2 separate regions of the Homo sapiens genome follow, and region 2 is linked to region 1. Evidence: promoter capture Hi-C in 16 types of primary human blood cells and fetal thymus (Javierre and others, 2016). All regions are on one chromosome and are shown on one strand. Each heading gives the region's core, a stretch centred on a gene start or on the middle of the fragment in contact. The rest is flanking DNA. Distances are from core to core; before and after follow the strand shown. Region 1 holds the start of VN1R4 (vomeronasal 1 receptor 4). Region 2 overlaps ZNF480 (zinc finger protein 480).

Evidence for each region. Contacts are between HindIII fragments. The CHiCAGO score rates a contact against its expected background, and 5 or more counts as called.
Region 2: a contact is called between a fragment that was not itself captured here and the fragment with the promoter of VN1R4 in region 1, in 1 of 17 cell types (M1 macrophages). The highest score is 5.1, in M1 macrophages.

What each region holds. Positions count from the first base shown.
Region 1 is chr19:53,264,336-53,269,527 of GRCh38, forward strand. It overlaps VN1R4 (vomeronasal 1 receptor 4), which reads right to left and starts at 3,388. Exons shown (of 1, transcript NM_173857.3): 1 at 2,341-3,388. The coding sequence starts at 3,330. The coding sequence ends at 2,425. RefSeq lists an enhancer at 5,040-5,192. The HindIII fragment of the contact is 11,315 bases long and covers 1-5,192 here.
Region 2 is chr19:52,319,147-52,324,338 of GRCh38, forward strand. It overlaps ZNF480 (zinc finger protein 480), which reads left to right. Exons shown (of 5, transcript NM_144684.4): 5 at 2,433-5,192. The coding sequence ends at 3,712. Among named protein-coding and RNA genes, the nearest start is that of ZNF610, 14 kb to the right of the region's middle. The HindIII fragment of the contact is 4,353 bases long and covers 446-4,798 here.

The DNA of each region.
Region 1 (5,192 bases), core at 2,138-4,637:
AGACATATTCACAAACAACATATACAATACAAGATGCCAGATACAGAATAGGTTATTTTGTATGATTCCACTTACAGGAAGTGCAAAACACATCAAAGTGATCGATGCTATGAGATGTCTGAATAGTGCTGAATCCTTGGGAGTCATGACAGGAAGGAGTGCATGGGGACACCTTGGGTTCCAGGAATAGCCTGTTTTTTCATCTAGAAGATGCATAGGAGATGCGTTCAGGTTTTAAAATTTCATAGAGCTGTGCACATTTACACAGCTGGGAGATGGTACATAGGTTACAATTTAGAGAACTGGGAGATGGTAAATAGGTTAGGGTTTTAATGTGCCAATATTGCCAAGGTGAAAGTTAAAGGTCTTACATAACTTTATGATTATTTTATAGAAGTAATTTCAAAATGTAAAACGAAGATAGTGAGTACAAAACCTTCTAAACAAAAGTGCAAAATGTAGAATTGCTTTAAAAATGTTTTAAAAACACAGAAGTTAAAATAGAAAGAATAAGAAAATAGGGAAAGTGTAAAGAACACAGAATAAATTGGTAAACATAATCCTGAATATATCCATTATTACATTAAACTGAAACAGACAAATAATTTTTGTTATAGTAACATTGTTTGACTATAATTAATTGAATATTTTAGACAGATACATAAAACATTACGAAAAATATACAATAACGAAAAATACATTCTATGTAATTTTAACCAATTAAACAACTAGCATGGCTATGTAAATAACACATGAAATAGACTTCATAGTTGGTTTAACTTGTCACTATTATAATTAATATTTTTCTACATTTCTTAATGTAAACATTTCTAATATTCCTTGGTAGATAGCAAACATAATGCCACTTACTATAAACATACACACAGGTATGTTCCATCTTGCTTTGTGATCTAATGTGCAGTACATAATCCTAAGTGCCTCATACAAGTTAAAAATGTTTCCTTATTTTCGTTCATGAAGTTCAATACGTTAAGTCAAACGAATTCTTTTGTTCGATGAACTATTGAATCTTTAATACTTTGCATCAGCTTCATAATGAAAATAAAGACTCAGTATGTTAGATTGTTTCTTATAATTGGGGCATAAGCATTTTGCTCCTTTGGAAGTCTACCTGTCATAATCTCCACACGAACACAGTGGATTCATACTTTCTCCCTCAATATAGCCATTTCTCTGCTATTTCAAGTAAATTTGAAGGAAATGAATGTCTGTGCTCACTTGCTCACCTTAGAGGTAGGAAAACGCAACCCCCAAATCTCTTTCTTTCCAACATGGCCAACTGGCATCTTCACATGATAAAGAAAAAGAGTCTACCATCTACTCGTCTAGATCCTCAAATCTATGCAGTCTCACAGAGTGTGTGTGGTTTTCTGTTGTTGTTATTGTTGTTGTTTGTTTGTTTGCTTTGAGGCCGGGTCTCACTCCCTTAGCCCAGGCTGGAGTGCAGTGGCGCGATCTCGGCTCACTGCAAGCTCTACTTCCTGGGCTTCAAGTGATTCTTCCATCTCAGCCTCCCAAGTACCTGGGTCTACAGGCATGTGCTACCATGCCTAGGTAATTTTTTTCATATTTTTAGTAGAGATGAGGTTCCGACACGTTGCCCAGGATGGTCTCGAACTGCTGGGCTCAAGCCATCCTCCCGCCTTGGCCTCCCAGAATGCTGGGACTACAGGCATGAGCCAGCACGCCCAGTCAGCATCTGCTTTTTAATAGTCAGCATTCACAGGATGTTTTTAATTTTGGCATAAATATATTTTTTTGTCTCATTCTTGATCAGTGTAACCATTTCTACATGAAAATGATTTAAATATACTGATTTCCCTCCATATAGTTATATTTTAAATTACTATTATCTGTCTGAGGATGTAACGTACAGATTTTATAACTTGGGACCCAAATCTGGAATTAACCAAAACCTCGCCTCCAAGCAACCTCATTACTTCAGGAGAACATTTTTTTCTTCACTTTCCTGAATGGTCATATCACACACTGCTACTTGTCATGTAACTTTTTCAACAATCTCACGCTTACTTAATTTCTGCATAGATTTATTATATCAGATCGAAGGTTGCACACTCAAAGAGATCCCCATCATTGCCAGATTGATTCAGGACCTAATTTTTTTAATTGCGTAGACCTTTAATGACTCTACTGCAGGCCTTAATAAAACTTTGATAATATGAATATTTACATAATAATTGCATCATATTTCATTTACAATTGTTCTTACTAGTTATTGTTTATCATTGGGGTGGAAGTTCACCCTGTCTTGTTCATCACCTTCTCATAATTGGGAGAGGTTCATAATTAAGATTACATTGCGGCACAGAAGAGTAAGTCATCAATTGAACCATGAGCAAATATATACAATGTACATGTTTATGATGAGGTTAGGAGATCTTGTCATCTTTTCCAGGCAAAACAAAACCTGTATACACTGGGGTCACAGCTCATGAGAACAAAGGGGCTGAGAGTTGGGAAACATACACTCATTAAGGCTGAAGTGTTCACCAGTAAACTATTGGGATTATCCAAAAGAGCCATACAAACTTGGAAAAGGCAGGAGAGAGTGTAAGAAGACACAAAGGTGCTCACCAGGATGAGGATGCTCTGCGTAGCTCTGTTCTCTGGGGAGGCTCTGGGGGAGAGATTGCTCCTATCAATGTGCTGGACCCGCTGCTTGTGCCTGTGCAGTATGCAAACCATGGAGCTGCTGACCCAGAGCATGAGCCCCAGACACAACACATCAGGGAATGATAACAACATTGCACGCAGTGTCTGTGCGATTTTGTTGTTGCCTCCCCCAGAACAGTATCCCAAATCCTCGTTCACTGTGATGTTTGTGTAGTTCCATTTGCCAGTCACATACATGGGAAAGATGATGTTTACCAACATGCACACGATCCAGCACAGGAGAACAGAAAAGCCAACATGCTTGGGGGCTTTCTCTTTAAGTTTTGCCCACCTGGATTTCCTGGAGCTGACCGTGATCACCTGGAAGACACTCAAGAGGCAGGTGGTGCCAATGGACACTCCCCTGCCCACTCTATGGAGATAGAAAACAAGTTTGCACCCAAGAGCATTGAGAAAATATCTAACCCCAAAAGCTGCCATTGTCTGGGGGACTCCTTTACAGCGGAGAGCTAAGAAGTTGGCTACAATCAGGTGCTTAACAATCAAATCTGTGGACCTTAACCTGCACCCAGTGCAGTAAAAGGAGAGATAATGGAGAAGAACAGAGAAGCTCCCCAGGACTCCCACCACGGTCTGTGATAAGATCATTCCCACTGCCACATACCGGGAGGCCATTCTGCCACTGATGTCTGTCACTGATGTTTGTCTTCAGGGCTGGGAGGTCCTGCATGGAAATAGGAGGCATGAGCTACGTTTATAGTGTCACCTGCAACCCAGCATTCTCCACCTCCCATTGCTCTGCCCTTAGAAATACTTAAAGTCACTCTTCTCTTAAGAGGCTTTTGAGAGTTGAATGCGTAACCTTTAAAGAGCACTTCCCATGTGGGAATCACTGCTGTGCAGATCATACGTGCGGCAACTTCTTTATTCACAAACCTATGAGGCAGGCATTACTATTACTTTCATTGTAAATATGAGAAGGACATACACACAGAGAGGTGAAGTGGCTGGCAACATTTCCACCCTACTTACAGGCAAAATGCGAACTTGAACCTGCCTGGTTTTATTGCAAAGACAGTGCATTTAGCCGTTATAGTTGACTAACAAAGCTAGATAGCTGTGTTCTTTGAATAAGACACACACACACACACACACACACACACACACACACACACACATACACACACACACCCCTTTGTTTTTATTCCTTGTCATTATATTTCAGTCTTGTAGTAGGTTACTGTATGTTGTAATGATTTTACATTATGTGTAAAAATGTATTCTATTTGTCAATATCCAAATAAATAAAGGTTTAGAGATCTTAAAAAATGTAGATGCAGGGATTACAGTTTGATACTATAGAAACCTGCACCATGACAAGTTGGATTTAATGACTGCAAGCATGGATCAATATTAGAATGGAAAGAGAGTAAAAAACATTGTGAGCATTTGCTTTTGTGCCACGGACAAAGGCATAAAGGCACCTACCACAATCATGTCTTACCCAAAACAATAGGACATGAAACAACAATATGGGATAAAATAGTGTAAGGTAATAACCAAATTCTTACAAATGTTAGATGACATATCTAGATCTATTAATAACTGAGTTAAATAAATTATTATCCTTAGGACAATATTTGCATAACTAAATTAAAATGTGACAAACGTGAAAATTGGAAACTCTAGTGGGTGTATATTATATATACTTTGTAAACGGAAATTAGAGAGTTTGGGTGATGTTAGAATCTATCTGAAGCAGAGAACACATCAGAGGACACATTTGAGTCTGATAGCTGCTCTCTTTAGCTCATTATTATAAAGTTACCTTTTCCTTAAATGCTGCCTCCTTAACATCAAGAGGAAAGACAGTCTCACCATAATCAACAGACTATGGCAGTTTTCAGTAGAGACACAATTAATGCTCCCATTAAGCCCTGCACACTCTCAGAATTAGAGAAAACATTTTCGTTCCAGCAACTACTAATTAGATACACTGTTTGTGTAAGGAATTACATGACTCCTGTAGAGTCAATCTATTCATTACAAGTATGGTGATATTATAGTCATTTCCTCAGCAATCCTGAAATTTTAGTGTATAATTCCTGTTGGGTAGGCGGAACAGCAGATTGATTTTAGTACCACAGTCCTTAAGAATGCAACCAGCTTTCATTATTACGACAGATTGATTTAAGAATGTTAGTCCTTAAGAACATAGTCAGGTTTCACTGTTATTTGGTGAAAAACCAACAGTGCGGGTCAGTGTGGATTCTCCTAAATCACATCAGGACCGCCCAAGGATTGGTGTGGGGCTAGGACCCCATTTCTCTTTAGTAGCTCAGCTCATGGCTCACAACCATTCCTCTTTTCTTGGTGACTTGGGGGTTAGACTAGTTTTCTTTTTTTTTTTTTTTTATTGATCATTCTTGGGTGTTTCTCGCAGAGGGGGATTTGGCAGGGTCATAGGACAATGGTGGAGGGAAGGTCAGCAGATAAACAAGTGAACAAAGGTCTCTGGTTTTCCTAGGCAGAGGACC
Region 2 (5,192 bases), core at 1,372-3,871, 950 kb before region 1:
AGCCACCACACCTGGGTCATTTTTTACTTTAATGGAGAATTTTATCCTCTCATTTGGGTTACCAGTACTGTCTGGAATCCTTTTATTTCATTTTGAAGGGCTCCCTGTAGCATTTCTTGTTGGACAGGTCTAGAGTAGTAATGAACTTTCTTAGCTCTTCTTTATCGAGGAAAATCTAAATTTCTCCTTTATTTTTGCAGGTGACTTTTGCTAAATATAGTATTCTTGGTTGATTTTAAGCACTTTCAATATGTCATCTCACTGCCTTCTGGCAGGCAAAGTTTCCGCTGGAGAAAGTACATAGTCTTATACCTTTTCCTCTAAATGGCAAATATCTTTTTTGTTGCTCCTGTCAAAATTCTTCCTCTGTCTTTGATGTTTGATAATTTGCTTATAATGTATCTCTGTGTGAATGTCCTTGGGTTCATTTTAATTTGAATGGTCAAGCTTCTTGAATTGTATATTCAGGTCTTTCTTCAGAATTGGGATTTGGACAATTATTTGGACATTATTTCTTCAGTTGCAATTTCTGATCCTCTGTCTTCTCCTTGTGAACCTCTAATAATTTGTATGTTGTTGTGCTTGAGAGCATCCGAAAAATGTATTAGCGTTTATTTGCTTTTCTTCTCTGTTTTTTGTTTTTGGTCTTTGTAGCTGATACTGTGTTTTTTTTTTTTTTTTTTTTTTTTAAATTAGAGTCTTGCTCTGTAGCCCAGGCTGGAGTGTAATGGCTCCATCTTGGCTCACTGCAATCTCTGCCTCCCAGGTTCAAGCGATTCTCCTGCCACAGCCTCCTGAGTAGCTGGGATTACAGGTGCATGCCCCCATGTCCATCTAATTTTTGTATTTTTAGTAGAGACAGGCTTTCACCATGTTGGTCAGGCTGGTCTCAAACTCCTGACCTAGTGATCCTCCTGCCTTGGCCTCCCAAAGTGCTGGGATTACAAGCGTGAGCCACTGTGCCTGGTGGAGCTGATACTTTTGAATAACTGACCTTTAAGTTTGCTCATTCTTTTTGGTGCTCTATCCATCTGCTGTTGAGCACCTAATGAATTTTTACTTTATTTATTGTGTTTCAGCTCCAGAATGTTTTTTGTTTCCTCCTTTGTTTAATATCCTCCTTCTCATGTATTGTTTTTCTGATTTCATTTAGTTGTCTATCTCTCCTTGATATCTTTTAGCTCATTAAGAATCTTAAGGCAGTTGCTTTAAATATTTGTCAAGGGCCAGGTGCAGTGCCTCATGCCTGTAATCCCAACACTTTGGGAGGCCAAGGCAGGAGGATCACTTGAGCCAAGGAGTTCGAGACCAGTCTAGGCAATATCACGAGCCCTTGTCTCTAAAAGAACACAGAAAAAACTTGCTGAGGCTGGATGTGGTGGCTCACGCCTGTAATCCCAGCACTTTCGGAGGCTGAGGTGGCCGGATCATGGTCAGGAGTTCCAGACCAGCCTGGCCAACATGGTAAAACCCCATCTCCACTAAAAATACAAAAATTAGCTGAGCATGTTGGCCGGCACCTGTAGTCCCAGTTACTCGGGAGGCTGAGGCAGGATAATTGCTTGAACCTGGAGGTGGAGGTTGCAGTGAGCTGAGATTGCATCATTGTACTCCAGCCTGGGCAACAAGAGCAAAACTCCATCTTAAAAACAAACAAAAGAAATAACAAAAAACCCCAAAACTTGCTGAATGTGGTGGTGCATGCCTGTAGACCCAGCTACTCAGGAGGCTGAAGCAGGAGAGATCGCTTGAGCTGGGGAAGTAGATGCTGCAGTGAGCTACACTATACCACTGCACTCCAGCCTGGACGATAGAGTGAGACCCTGTCTTAAATAAATAAATAAATAAATATTTGTCTAGTAATTTAGAGAGCTGCCTGTCTTTTTCTAGGTTTGGCTTTATTTATTTTTTAGCCATATTTCTCTTTCCTTTCATAGGCCTTGTAATTTTTGGATTAGGTTTGGTAAAATAACTGCTTCTCTCAGTTGTTTTGTATAAGACTTGGTCAGAGGGAGATCTTTTCTAATTAGCCTGTTGTAAAGGGTGTGGGAACACTCACTCCTTTTCTGGGGATGTGCCTTTCCTAGCTTTGTGCATGTACTGTTATTATGTATACTGCTTCTCTTGAGTGTCTTATTTTCCCTAGAGACTTGTCCCTTCTTTTTCTCAGAAGGTTTCAATTCCTGTTCTATCTCTCTACTCATAATCCCTCTCAAACTCACCTGTAATCCTCCTGACTCCTACAGATTTCCCAGAACTCCAGTGCATCACCTTACCCTTTTCTATTTTCAGCACAACCAGCGTGATGTACAAAGTGTGCTGATATTTCTTCCAATGTCTGAGTCAGATGAGGCAGATTCTAGTATTTTCATCAGACTCTAAACATGCCAGAATTATGGGGTCTGAATTTTACTTTTTTCTTGCTTTCCTAGGGAGCAGCTATGCATTGGGAAGCAATGCAGAAGACAAACCAATTAAAAAACAACTTGGAGTATCCTTTCACTTACATCTGTCTGAACTGGAGCTATTTCCAGATGAAAGGGTAATAAATGGATGTAATCAAGTTGAAAACTTTATCAACCACAGTTCCTCTGTTTCCTGTCTTCAAGAAATGTCTTCCAGTGTCAAAACCCCCATTTTTAATAGGAATGATTTTGATGATTCTTCATTTCTCCCACAAGAACAGAAAGTACACCTTAGAGAAAAACCTTATGAATGTAATGAGCATAGCAAAGTCTTTAGAGTATCTTCCAGCCTTACTAAACATCAAGTAATCCATACTGTAGAGAAACCTTACAAATGTAATTCATGCGGCAAGGTCTTTAGTCGCAATTCACACCTTGCAGAACATTGTAGAATTCATACTGGAGAGAAACCTTACAAATGTAATGTCTGTGGCAAGGTTTTTAGTTACAATTCAAACTTTGCACGACATCAAAGAATTCATACCAGAGAGAAGCCGTATGAATGTAATGAATGTGGTAAAGTCTTCAGTAATAATTCTTACCTTGCACGACATCAAAGAATTCATGCTGAAGAGAAACCTTACAAATGTAATGAATGTGGTAAAGGCTTCAGTCATAAGTCATCTCTAGCAAATCATTGGAGAATTTATACTGGAGAGAAGCCTTACAAATGTGATGAATGTGGCAAGGCCTTCTATAGGATTGCGCTCCTTGTACGACATCAGAAAATTCATACTGGAGAGAAACCTTACAAATGTAATGAATGTGGAAAGGTCTTTATTCAAAATTCGCACCTAGCACAACATTGGAGAATTCATACAGGAGAGAAACCTTACAAATGTAATGAATGTGGAAAAGTATTTAATCAACTTTCAAATCTTGCACGACATCGAAGAATTCATACTGGAGAGAAGCCTTACAAATGTAATGAATGTGGTAAAGCATTTAGTGAGTATTCAGGCCTTTCAGCCCATCTTGTAATCCACACTGGAGAGAAGCCTTACAAATGTAGTGAATGTGGCAAGGCATTCAGACACAAGTTATCACTAACCAATCATCAGAGAATCCATACTGGAGAAAGACCTTACAAATGTAATGAATGTGGCAAGGTCTTCAATCGAATTGCACACCTTGCACGACATCGGAAAATTCATACTGGAGAGAAACCTTACAAATGTAATGAGTGTGGCAAGGCCTTTAGTCGCATTTCATACCTAGCACAACATTGGACAATTCATATGGGATAGAAACTACAAATGCAACAAATGCGTCAAAGAATTTAGTGTGCACTCAAGCCTTACTACCCATCTTTTATTCCATACTGCAAAGAAATTTTGCAAATGTAAAGAATATGACAAGGTCTTCAAACACAAGTTTTTCTAATAACTCATTAGAGAATTTATACTGGAGAGACTTCACAATTATAATAAATGTGTGGAAAAGTCTTCAAAAAAATTTCACACCTTGCAAAAGGAGATCTAAAAAACACAATCAGAAATGACAAAGGGGACATTACCACCAACCCCACAGAAATACGAAAAACCCTCAAAGATTACTATAAACACCTGTATGCACACAAACTAGAAAACCTAGAAAAAATTAATAAATTCCTTGAAAGATATAACCCCCCAAGATTGAACCAAGAAGAAATTGCATCCCTGAACAGACCAATAATGAGTTCCAAAATTTAATCACTAATTAAAAATCTATCAAACAAAACTCTGGACCAGACAGATTTATAGTTGAAGCCTACGAGATGTATAAAGAAAAGCTGTTACCAATCTTACTGAAACTGTTCAAAAACATGGATGCAGAGGGACTCCTCCCTATCTGATTCTATGAGGCCAGCATCATTCTAATACCAAAACCTGACAGGCACAATGAAAAAAGAAAACTTCAGGCTGGTACTCCTGACGAATATAGGTGCCAAAATCCTCAGCAAAATACTAGTAAACCAAATCCATCTGCACATCAAAAAGCTAATCCAACATTATCAAGCAGGCTTTAGTGTTGGGCTGCAAGGTTGGTTCAGTATACACAAATCAATAAATGTGATTTATCACATACACAGAACTAAAAACAAAAACCACATGACCATGATCATCTCTTTAGATGCAGAAAGGTTTTTAATAAAATTCAACATCCCTTCATTTTAAAAACCCTCAACAAATTACACATTGAGGGAACATACTTCAATAAGAACCATCTATGCTGGACTCACAGCCAAATTAATACTGAACAAGCAAAAGCTGGAAGCATTCCCCTTGAGAACTGGAAAATGACAGGGATGACCACTCTCACCACTCCGATTCAACATAGTACTGGAAGTCCTAAGCTTAGTGATCAGGCAAGATAAAGATATGAAAGGCATATATAAATAGGAAGAGGGGAAGTCAGTTTCTCTTGCAGAAGATATAATTCTGTATTTAGAAAACCTGTTGTCTCTGCCCAAAGGCTCCTAGATCTGATAAACAACTTCAAAAAAGTTTCAGGATACAAAATCTGTGTACAAAAATTAGTTGCATTTCTATACACCAGTAATGTCCAAGCTATGAACCAAATCAAGAATGGAATCCCATTCACAGTAGCCACAAAAAGTATAAAATACCTAGGAATACAGCCAACCAGGTAAGTGAAAGATTTCTACAATGAGAATTACAAAGCAGTGCACAAAGAAATCAGAAACAATAAAAATTGAAAAATATCTCATGCTCATGGATAGGAAGA